3 separate regions of the Homo sapiens genome follow, and all the other regions are linked to region 1. The links are contacts of gene promoters, found by promoter capture Hi-C in blood cells and fetal thymus (Javierre and others, 2016). All regions are on one chromosome and are shown on one strand. Each heading gives the region's core, a stretch centred on a gene start or on the middle of the fragment in contact. The rest is flanking DNA. Distances are from core to core; before and after follow the strand shown. Region 1 holds the start of DGKI (diacylglycerol kinase iota). Region 2 overlaps ATP6V0A4 (ATPase H+ transporting V0 subunit a4). Region 3 overlaps ATP6V0A4 (ATPase H+ transporting V0 subunit a4).

The links. The method cuts DNA at HindIII sites, captures the fragments that hold promoters and counts their contacts. A CHiCAGO score of 5 or more calls a contact.
Region 2: a contact is called between a fragment that was not itself captured here and the fragment with the promoter of DGKI in region 1, in 1 of 17 cell types (neutrophils). The highest score is 5.2, in neutrophils.
Region 3: a contact is called between a fragment that was not itself captured here and the fragment with the promoter of DGKI in region 1, in 3 of 17 cell types (neutrophils, naive B cells and monocytes). The highest score is 6.0, in neutrophils.

What each region holds. Positions count from the first base shown.
Region 1 is chr7:137,844,989-137,848,570 of GRCh38, reverse strand. DGKI (diacylglycerol kinase iota) reads left to right here and starts at 1,597. Exons shown (of 33, transcript NM_001321708.2): 1 at 1,597-2,109. The coding sequence starts at 1,709. RefSeq lists silencers at 794-1,088, 1,573-1,622 and an enhancer at 2,257-2,758. The HindIII fragment of the contact is 3,155 bases long and covers 871-3,582 here.
Region 2 is chr7:138,790,734-138,794,315 of GRCh38, reverse strand. The region is part of intron 1 of ATP6V0A4 (ATPase H+ transporting V0 subunit a4); the gene reads left to right. Among named protein-coding and RNA genes, the nearest start is that of TMEM213, 5.5 kb to the left of the region's middle. The HindIII fragment of the contact is 3,739 bases long and covers 1-3,582 here.
Region 3 is chr7:138,758,637-138,762,218 of GRCh38, reverse strand. It overlaps ATP6V0A4 (ATPase H+ transporting V0 subunit a4), which reads left to right. Exons shown (of 22, transcript NM_020632.3): 8 at 2,341-2,467. Among named protein-coding and RNA genes, the nearest start is that of TMEM213, 38 kb to the left of the region's middle. The HindIII fragment of the contact is 3,114 bases long and covers 1-2,807 here.

The DNA.
Region 1 (3,582 bases), core at 348-2,847:
GGAGGCGTGAAAAATCAGAAGTATTTTGGGGCTCACACTTGAGATTGGATTGGGGAAGATACGGCTAAAAGTAAGTGGGAGTAATGAGGGGGCTGTCCCAGTAATTGGGTTCAGATGACATTTGCTTGATTTTAGGGATGTACGAGATATTCGTGGATCTTGTGTTGAAGCACCTAATACACGATGTCCCTTCTGAAGACGGGTGCATTAAACTGGGGTGAAGCACAAAGGCCACTGAGCAGCCTGGCTTGACTCCTGGCTTTGCCAGTTTGCATTTGCACGTGTCCAAGCCCTTGAGAGGTGCTGTGAAAACATAGAGGTGGATGAGGGAAGTGCTTATACAGCACATACCGTATAAAAAGAGGGCTTCATACTTGCTAGTTGTTTTAATTTTTATTATTACTTTTCCTCGCTGCACATGGAAATGTCTTTACCTTTGTCTTATTATAAGGTACATACGAGGAGAGTTACAGAACATGGGTGTTAGAAGAGATTTGACATATCTGTTCATTTTCCTAATTTTAGTGATGAGAAAATAAAGGGAAAGAAAGCAATTTAGATTTTTGCCAGTATTACAATTCTTTGTTCACGGGCACACCACGCCAGCCTGAAACTGTTCATTGGTCTGGTTCTCTTACCACCTCGTATATGTAGGTTTATAGTTTGGTTACGAACACCACCTTGTCTTAACCATAGATAGTTCCTGTGTTTGCCGACAGCAGCGATTTCTTGTGTGGAAACCCCTAATTTGGGAAACAATCTGTTTTAAACACTTTGTAGCACATCACTCAAACCGCACAGTTTTCGATAATCTTAGAAACAAAAACTGGGGTTGAGGCGGACAGTTAAATTCTGCAGACACCACAAGCTTGGATTCGTTTCAGCAGTCGGTCCTAAGTGGTTTGAAGCCCCTTCCGGGATGCCTCTTCTTATACGAACAACGCAGCGGCGCCAGGCGCCAGGGTCCTCACTTCTGCCTCCTGGATTTCCTCCGCCTTTCTGCTTCACCGAGGGCCCTGTGATCCGATTCCATCGAATTAACCGCTGTTTACCGAGGGTCTGCTGCGCCTAAGGAAGGCACCGGGCGACGAGCAAGGCGGGGACGCAGTTTGGGGACGCAGGGGTCCGGGCCCCAGTCCAGAGACAGGAGGTCGGCGCTTCGACTTGGCACCCGCCGACGAATTCACTCCAAGGTTCCCACTGGCGGAGCTCCTGCTACCTCCCCCCTCCCCTAAATGCAGCTCCCGCTACCTTCCCGCGCCCAGGGGCTGCTGCCTGAGCCCAGCTCTGCTCACTGGAGGGCGGCGGTGGAGAGGGTGCTGGCCCAGCGTCGGCAGCTGGGCTCAGGACCAAGGTGGGCGCCCGCCGGTCCTGGTCCCCCCAGCCTCACGGTGCAGGACCCAGGGCGCGGCCACTCGAGTTCCCCGGACGCTCTCCTTCCTGATGCTCGCTGTCCCTGCCCTGGCGTCCCCAGCCCGGGGTCGCAGCCTGTCCTCCTCTCTCTCCCCCTCCGCCGCAGCCCGTCGCCTCCGGGCAGAGTTCATGTTCAGCTTGGGCTTTCGCTCGGGATTTAGGAAGAGGCCGGCGGGGCTGGAGGGTGCGGGCCGGCGCGGGAGGGCGCGGGAGGCGGGGAGCGGCGGCCTCTGATTGGCCGGGGCGGGGGAGTGAGCGGAGTTTCCCACAATGCCCCGGTGCGGTGCAGCCGCGGATGGATGCTGCGGGAAGGGGCTGCCATTTGCTGCCCCTGCCAGCGGCGCGCGGACCTGCCCGCGCTCCTGCAGCCGCCGCCGCCGCCGCCGCCAGCCCGCCCGGCCCCTGCAGCGGCGCCGCCTGCGCTCCCTCCGCGGCCGCCGGAGCGGGCGCCATGAACCCCAGCTCCTCGGCGGGAGAGGAGAAAGGGGCGACGGGCGGCAGCAGCAGCAGCGGAAGCGGCGCCGGGAGCTGCTGCCTGGGCGCCGAGGGCGGCGCGGACCCGCGGGGCGCAGGGTCAGCCGCGGCGGCGGGGGCCGCTGCCCTGGACGAGCCCGCGGCCGCCGGCCAGAAGGAGAAGGACGAAGCGCTGGAGGAGAAGCTGAGGAACTTAACTTTCCGGAAGCAGGTCTCGTACAGGTAGGTGCGGGGAGCCGGCAGCCGAGACAGGTGCGCCGCGGCGGGAGACCCACTCTTCTACCCAGCAAGGGGCGCTTCCGCGGAGTTGGGCACCTCTCTGTTTCCACGCCTCTCCTTCCCCCTTTCCCCCTCTCCTCCCGGGGATGTCTGTCTTCTCCCCATCCTATCATTCCAGGCTGGAGGGCAGCAACGCCTGCTTTCCCCTGTGGCAGGAGAGAAGCACTGGGTCCCTAAGGTCAGAGCAACAGAAATTTTGTCTGTGTGTGTGTGTGTGTGTGTGTGTGTGTGTGTGTGTGTGTGAGAGAGAGAGAGAGAGAGAGAGAGAGAAAGAGAGAGAGAGAAAGGGTTGCAGACTCAGTGATGCTTAGTTTTCTTAAGAGAAGTCGTCAAAGTTGCCCCTAAGCAGGTGTCATCTTCAACCACCCTTCCCCCACCTTCCAGATTTCGCTGGATGAACCTTTGGCACTAACTTGACAGCTGAGATCACTCCGACAGGCAGAAAAGAATAGCACTACACTGAAGAGAAATCCTTATGGAAGTTGGACCTGCCTCGAAATCCCCCATGAAGGAAGAGTGGGTTTATGTCTGTAGATGCGCCACTGGTTATGGGGGCTCCATGCCTGCGTGCTCCTTGCCTCTCTCCTGGCTGGAGGAGGGTGTGGGGAGCCCGCTGGCAAGCTAGGGGTGAAGGTGAGAGTGGGGACCATATTTGCACCTAAGGATGAGTGTATGTGTAAGACAAGGACAGTGTGGGATCAATGGCCTTTAAATTAGGATAAAAGATAACCCCACATTGTATTAGAATCCAACAACGAGGAATTAGGATTTATTAAGGTCTCTCTCACCCCTCCCTTCCGCAGGCAAGAATAAAGACATTGACAGGTTTGGAGAGTTGTTGACACTAACCCTACTGCTTATCGATGTTAAAGGTCGAGGTGATATGCAAGCATAGGTTTACAAAGATGTACACTTGCTGGAGCTCAGAGGGTTTCTGGAAAAGGGGTCAGTGAAAACATTCTTGTAACCCTACTCTTTCTGAGTTAGTGTTCCCTTCCCAAAAACCATATAAAGTATTAAGCCTGTCACACCATGTGCTGTTATGTAAGCAAACGCAGATGACAGAGGTGTGTGGGTTTGGGAGGGTGTGTTTTATTTATGGGGGCAGGTGTGTGAATAATTGGGATCCCCATAGACATCGCCTGGCCTGGAGGCCACAGTCACTAGGGCATGTGCTCTGTGTCTAAGTGTTGACTTCTGATGACTCCTAAAACGCCTTCCTGGTGAGGTTGTTGCTTCTGCGTTCCTCCCATGCATTTTGTTCGCTGTGCGCTGAGGGAGTTCCCCACCTGAGTTGTTCTCTTAGTTACTCACACAGATCAGGTCCAAATGGATCTTTCTTTTTATACTTTGGTTTCTAAAAATAGACAGATGGTGGGGAGGGGGTAGCTCTAGGGAGGTATGCTAGGACACTGG
Region 2 (3,582 bases), core at 553-3,052, 950 kb before region 1:
TTGGGTTTTTCATCTCCAGTTAACCCAAAATCTATTCAGAGGAGAATTGTGGCCCTAACCAAGCCTGTGCCTGCCAAGCCCCAGCTCCCTCACAGAGATGGGGTTGATGGCTCTTCTTGCTCCTGGCTCTGTCAGGATCTGTTTTTACAAAATAATGTCAGGCTCTGGGTGGTTGTGGGACCGAAACATCTAGATGTGGACCTGAGCAGCACTTAGTTTGTGGAGGAGTTAACCTCACTCCCTGCCCTTCAGTGATGGGTCTGTAATTTGGAGAGAACAAGAGGTTCCCTTTTAGGAAACCTTGAGAACTACAGCTGTTAAGATCATGCCATAGAGTTAGTTGATCAAAGTAAGAAAGTCAGCAAGGAAGTCCTGGAGTCCACCATTTGGAATAATTTTTGAACACTTCCCAGGATGACTAATTTAGCTTGTTCAAAATTGCACTGGGAGGCGGTGCAGCTATGGTCCAGACACGCGGAGGTTAACACAAAGGAGGTCCTTCCTCTTGGCGAAAACAACCTTCCACCTAGGTCCTGTATCTTATTCCCTCCCATCTTCTCTGAAGTATATTTCTTAATTTCCAAACATACGGAGGTTTTCTAGTTATCTTTTTGTTATTGATTTGTAGCTTAGTTGCACTGTGACCTGCGAATATACTTTGATGATTTCTATTTTTTGATGTTAGTTAAAAGACACCATATGACCAATTTTTGTGGCTCTTGAATGTGTCATGCAGTTGTGGGGTCAGTGCTCCGGGTAAGTCCATTAGATCAAGAGTGCTAATTGTGTGGTTCAGAACATCCATATTTTTCCTGTCTTTTAAAATTTGGTCTAATTATTCTGTTGAATACAGAGATGATTGCGGGTTTCTTTCTTCCCTGTAGTTTTGTCAACTTTTGCATTCAATATTTGAGGCTGTAATTGAGGTACAAACAAATACGGAATTTTGACAACTTCCTGGCAAATTGAACCTTCTTTTAAAAAATCATTGTGTAATATCCCTCATCTCTTTTATATTTTTGAGATGGAGTCTCTCTCTGTCGCCCAGGCTGGAATGCAGTGGCACGATCTCGGCTCACTGCAACTTCCACCTCCCGGGTCCAAGCGATTCTTCTTCCTCAGTCTCCTGAGTAGCTGGGATTACAGGCGTGTGCCACCACCCCCGGGTAATTTTTGTATTTTTGGTAGAAACAGGGGTTTCACCATGTTGGCCAGGCTGGTCTTGAAATCCTGACCTCAGGTGAGACTCCCGTCTCAGCCTCCCAAAGTGCTGGGATTACAGGTGTGAGCCACTGCGCCCAGCCTTCTTTATCTCTAGTAATGTTTTTTTGCCATAAACTTTACTTTGTCTGATATTGCTGTAGCTATAACAGGTTTCTTTTGTTTTGTTTGGCATGCTAAATCATTTTCCCATCATATTACTTTCAACTTTTCTAAAACCCTGTTCAAGATGGGAGGATTTCTTGAGCCCAGGACTGTGAGACCAGCCTGGGCAACATAGTGAAACTCTGTTGCTACAAAAAAAAAAACAAAACAACAAAAAAAAAAACAAACCTGAGTTTGGTGATGCAAGCCTGTGGTCCCAGCTACTCAGGAGGCTGAGATAGGAGGATTGCTTGAGCCCAGGAGATCCGAGATGGCAGGGAGCCATGATGGAGTCACTACACTCCAGACTGGGTGACAGAGTGAGACCCTGTCTCTAAAATTTAAAAACAAACAAATCAATCTATCAGCTTACCAAGTGCTCTCTACTCTTCCCATCTAGCTTATGTTCCTTTTCTCTTTCTTCTCACTACTTTTGGATTGAGTTGTTGGGTTATTCCATTTTGTAGAGATTACGACATGCATTCCTTTTTTGTTGCTTTTTAAGATTATTTTATTCTGCAACCCAGGAGCATAGATCCAAGTTACCCTGAATATATGTTCTCACAAGTGCATTCTTAACATATCAAAGTCTAATATTAATTGACACTTTCACCACTTTCATAGATAATATGAAGACCTCAGAACTTTAACTCCATTTACCCACTCGCCCAGGCTGGAGTGCAGTGGCGCTATCTCGGCTCACTGCAAGCTGCCTCCTGGGTTCACGCCATTCTCCTGCCTCAGCCTCCCGAGTAGCTGGGACTACAGGTGCCCGCCACCACGCCCAGCTAAGTTTTTGTATTTTTAGTAGAGATGGGGTTTCACCGTGTTAGCCAGGATGGTCTCGATCTCCTGACCTCGTGATCTGCCCACCTCGGCCTCCCAAAGTGCTGGGATTACAGGCGTGAGCCACCACACCTGGCCTATCCACTCCTGATTTTTATACCATTGTAGTCATGTATGTTAGTTATACACATAGTTTTTAACTCAATAAGTCATTATTATTATTATTTTCCAAGTGAATATATGAGTGAAATTTATTAAATTTATTTACATGTTTACCGGTTTATTGTTCTTAATTTATTTCTGCATGTCTGGTCTTCCATCTGTGATCATTTTCCTTCTCTTTGAAGAATACCATTTAGTATTCCCTCAGTGGAGTGATTAACATGTTACTTTGTTTGTCTGGATATGTTTTTATTCTTCCTTCATTCTTGGAAATCACCTTCATTGGGTACAAAATGTAAGGTTGGCAGATATTTTCTTTCAGTGCTTTAAAGATAACATTTCATTTCTTTTGGCTACCATTGTTTCTGTTGAGAACTGTCCACCTCACTGGGGCTTCATTGCAGATAATTTGCCTCTTTTATTTTTTGGCTGTTTTTAAATTTTTCTTTGCCTTTGGTTTTCAGCAGTTTTACTCTGATGTGCTGAAGTATGGATTCCTTTTTTGTCCTCTTTGGAGTTTGTAGGCAATTGGATATGGAGCTTGATGTTATTAATAAGTTTTGAAAACTTCTCAGCCATCAAATACTACTTGTGAACCATTCTCTCCTCTCTTTTTGTGACTGATTACACATAGGTTAGATCTTTCCACTCCATCCTGTAATTCTCTTACCTTCTTCTTTATTCTTTATCTTTTTGTTTTCCTGTGTTTTACTCTGGATATTGCCTTTTGCCCAGTCTTTTATGAAATCTCTTGTCATCTGTGTCTAATCCTCTTTTATAACTACCCATTGGGTTCTTAATTTCGATTATCTTAGTTTTAGTTCCAGAATTTCCATTCTGTTCTTTTTTATATTTTTTTTTCTGCCAAACTATTCAGTCCTGTTTTTCATCTTCATAAACAGAGGGGATATAATTCCTTTAAAATCCGTGTCTGATAACCTCAGTCTTCGCCATTCTTTTCCCATTCGTTTATTTCCATTGTCTATTATTTCTGCTGTTTTCATTCATATGATCATGTTTCTTTGCATACCTGGTTATTTTTTATTGTGGGCAAAATTGCAATTACATACTATTGTTTATAGAAATAACTTGAGACCCAGGATAATGCTTTCTTCCTGTAGACATGATTTTTGTTGTTGTTGCTTTAATCGAGTGCTTGGGGGCAACACAAATCTGCTATCATGTCATTCCGGTCTCAGGAATTGAGACGATGTGTGTCAGTTTATTTTGGATACCTTTCCTTCTATGGTGTAGCCCTTTAGAAATTTC
Region 3 (3,582 bases), core at 1-2,500, 910 kb before region 1:
TCTGCCAAGCGATAGACCCATATGTAACTTACTAGGTTGGTGGAGTCGGAAGTGGTGTCAGCTTCTTGTTAGTGGCGATGCTGACCTCCTTGAGCCTGAAGACTGCAATGTTTATATTGCTCCCCCATTGGAAGCTGTGGGGATCATTGTTCAGATGGGTTATCACAACTCTTCCCTGGCGTTGGAACAAGGCTATGGGGACTTATGTTTTTCCTTTCTCTTTAAAATACTATTTTGGGAGCCGGGCGTGGTGGCTCACACCTGTAATCCCAGTACTTTGGGAGGCTGAGGTGGGTGGATCACTTGAGGTCAGGAGTTTGAAACCAGCCTGGGCAACATAGTGAAACCCCAATCTCTACTAAAAATACAAAATTAGTCAGGCATGGTCGCACGTGCCTGTAATACCAGTTACTTAGGAAGTTGAGGCAGGAGAATCGCTTGAACCCTGGAGGTAGAGGTTGCAGTGAGCCAAGATCGTGCCACTGCACTCTAGCCTGGGCGACAGAGCAAGACTCCAGCTCAAGAAAATAAAATAAAATATTACTTTGATAATAAAATGCATTTGGAGTTTGAATTTTTTTTTTTTTTGAAACAGAGTCTTGCTCTGTCGTCCAGGCTGGAGTGCAGTGGCCTGATCTCGACTTACTGCAAACTCCGCCTCCCAGGTTCACGCCATTCTCCTGCCTCAGCCGAGTAGCTGGGACTACAGGCGTCTGCCACCACACCCGGCTAATTTTTTTGTGTTTTTGGTAGAGACGGGGTTTCACCGTGTTAGGCAGGATGGTCTCGATCTCCTGACCTCGTGATCCGCCTGCCTTGGCCTCCCAAAGTGTTGGGATTACAGGTGTGATCCACCGCACCTGGCCTGAATTTGTGTGTTTTTTTTTGACACGGGCTCTCACTCTGTTGCCCAGGCTGGAGTGCAGAGGTGCAATCATAGCTCACTGCAGCCTTGACCTCTCAGGCTCAAGTGATCTTCCTACCTCTGCCTCGCGAGTAGCTGGACCACAGGCACAATGCCAGGCTAATTTTTAAAAAATTTTTTAGTAGAGACAAGGCCTCACTGTGTTGCCCGGGATACATTTTTAAATGTAATTAGAAATGGGGGTCAGATGTGGTGGCTTATGCCTATAATCCCAGCACTTTGGGAAGCTGAGGCAGGAGGATCACTTGAGGCCAGGAGTTTGAGATCAGCCTGAGCAACATAGCAAGACTCTGTGTCTACAAAAAAAAAAATTTTAATAAAAAAAAGAAATGGGATAGTTATGCAATCAAGTTATTTCCAAGAAGCAGTGATATGATGTGTCGTAGCCATGAAAATAATGTGGTGATTCAAAATGGTAGGATTTTGTTCAGTGCCTAAGTGAAATTGAGGCATTTTAAAGCATTTCTGAAAATTGTGAGTTTGGGATTTATGATTTTTTATTCAATAAATATTTGAGGGCCTGATATTTGAGGCACTAGGCATTGAATTTGAAATGAAAATAAAAATATTTATTGGAAATATTTGATCAGAAAGTAATACAGGATCAATGAACATTTAAAGTAATAAGCCAGTGAAAGTCACTGGCTAACATGAGAAGTTTGGGTCAGCAGTTATCTACATGCTTGGATAATGGAAAAAACAGATATATATAGACATCAATGTATTTTTCCCTCTTAGTATTAAAATATTTTTGGAAAAATGCATAGAGACTACTGTTGAATATTTGCTATCATTAGCTACAATGCATGATGAATGGTCTATCATATTCTTTTTTTTTTTTTTTTTTTTGAGACAGAGTTTCACCCTTCTCTGCCCAGGCTGGAGTGCAATGGCACATTCTTGGCTCACTGCAACCTCCGCCTCCCAGGTTCAAGTGATTTTCCTACCTCAGCCTCCTGAGTAGCTGGGACTATAGGTGCACGCCACCAGGTGTGGCTAATTTTGTATTTTTAGTAGAGATGGGGTTTCAGCATGTTGGCCAGGCTGGTCTCGAACTCCTGACCTCAGGTGATCCGCCCGCCTCAGCCTCCCAAAGTGCTGGGATTACAGGTGTGAGCCACGGCGCCTGGCCATTCTATCATATTCTTAATTGCAATTAGTGACGATATAGTATTGGAATGATTAAGGATATTTCAAGATACCAAAGAAAACAGAAGGTCAAAGGGACTTGGGGCAAGTCAGGGCTGGATGCGGGGTGGCCTTGGGACTCATGTCGGTAGAGCTGTGTCGGGGTCCCTCCTGCTCACAGAGTGAATGGCCCTTCCTTTCATGGTGTGTCTTCACGTCCTACAGGGCCTTCTCTCTGCATCCCAATCCCTGTGCCTTAAGGAATGTCTTCCCTTCTGGCTGCCTAGGTTCATAGCCGGTGTGATCAACAGGGAGAGGATGGCTTCCTTTGAGCGGTTACTGTGGCGAATCTGCCGAGGAAACGTGTACTTGAAGTTCAGTGAGATGGACGCCCCTCTGGAGGATCCTGTGACGGTGGGAACCTTGGGCTGCAAAAACTTTCTCTGAGACTTCCCATAGCCCTCAGCAGAAGCGCTTCGTTCTCCCAAAACATGGGGGATCTTTAGTTTGATGAGACTAATATCTATTTCCTTTTTTTCTCCTTTTTTTCCTTCCCTTTTACTTTGTTCCTTTTTAAAAATATATATTTGAAAGGTCAGTTCAAGGACTGATTCTTGTCAACACCTCATAACTGGTTTATTCTTCCCAGAGACATAGCTATACTTTTCTCTAGAACTTAGTTATACTAGTACTATCCTAGGCGGCAGCTGTGTCTTAAAGAACTGAGAACTGATTGAGGTCAGCTTCTCAAGCTTCAATGTGCACGCGAGCATAGAGGTCACCCGGGGATCTTGTTAAAATGCAAATTCCAGGCCAGGCATGGTGGCTTATGCCTGTAATCTCAGCGCTTTGGGAGCCCAAGGTGGGAGGATCGTTTGAGGTCAGGGGATTGAGACCAGCCTGGGCAACATAGCAAGAAAACATCTCTACAAAAAAAAGTTAACCAAGTGTGGTGGCACACACCGGTAGTCCCAGCTACTTAGGAGGCTGAGGTGGGAGGACAACTTGAGCCCAGGAGGTCAAGGCTGCAGTGAGCTATGATCACACCACTGCACTCCAGCCTAGGGAACAGAGTGAGACCCTATCTCAAAAAAAAAAAAAAAAAAAAAAAAATAGGCTGGGCATGGTGGCTCATGCCTGTAATCCCAGCACTTTGGGAGGCCGAGGTGGGCGGATCACCTGAGGTCAGGAATTTGAGACCATCCTGGCCAACATGGTGAAACTCTGTCTCTACTAAAAATAAAAAAATTAGCCAGGAGTGGTGGCGCACACCTGTAGTGCCAGCTACTTGCGAGGCTGAGGCAGGAGAATCACTGGTACCCAAGAGGCGGAGGTTGCAGTGAGCTGAGATTGTGCCACTGCACTCCAGCCTGGGTGACAGAGCAAGACTCCCTCAAAAAAAAAAAAAAAAAAAAAAAAAAAAAAATTCTGAGTCAGTGGGTCTGAGTGGGGCCTGAGATTCCGCAGTTCTTACAACTCCCAGAGAATGCTGATGATGTATTTGCCAATAGATCCCACACTTCAAACAA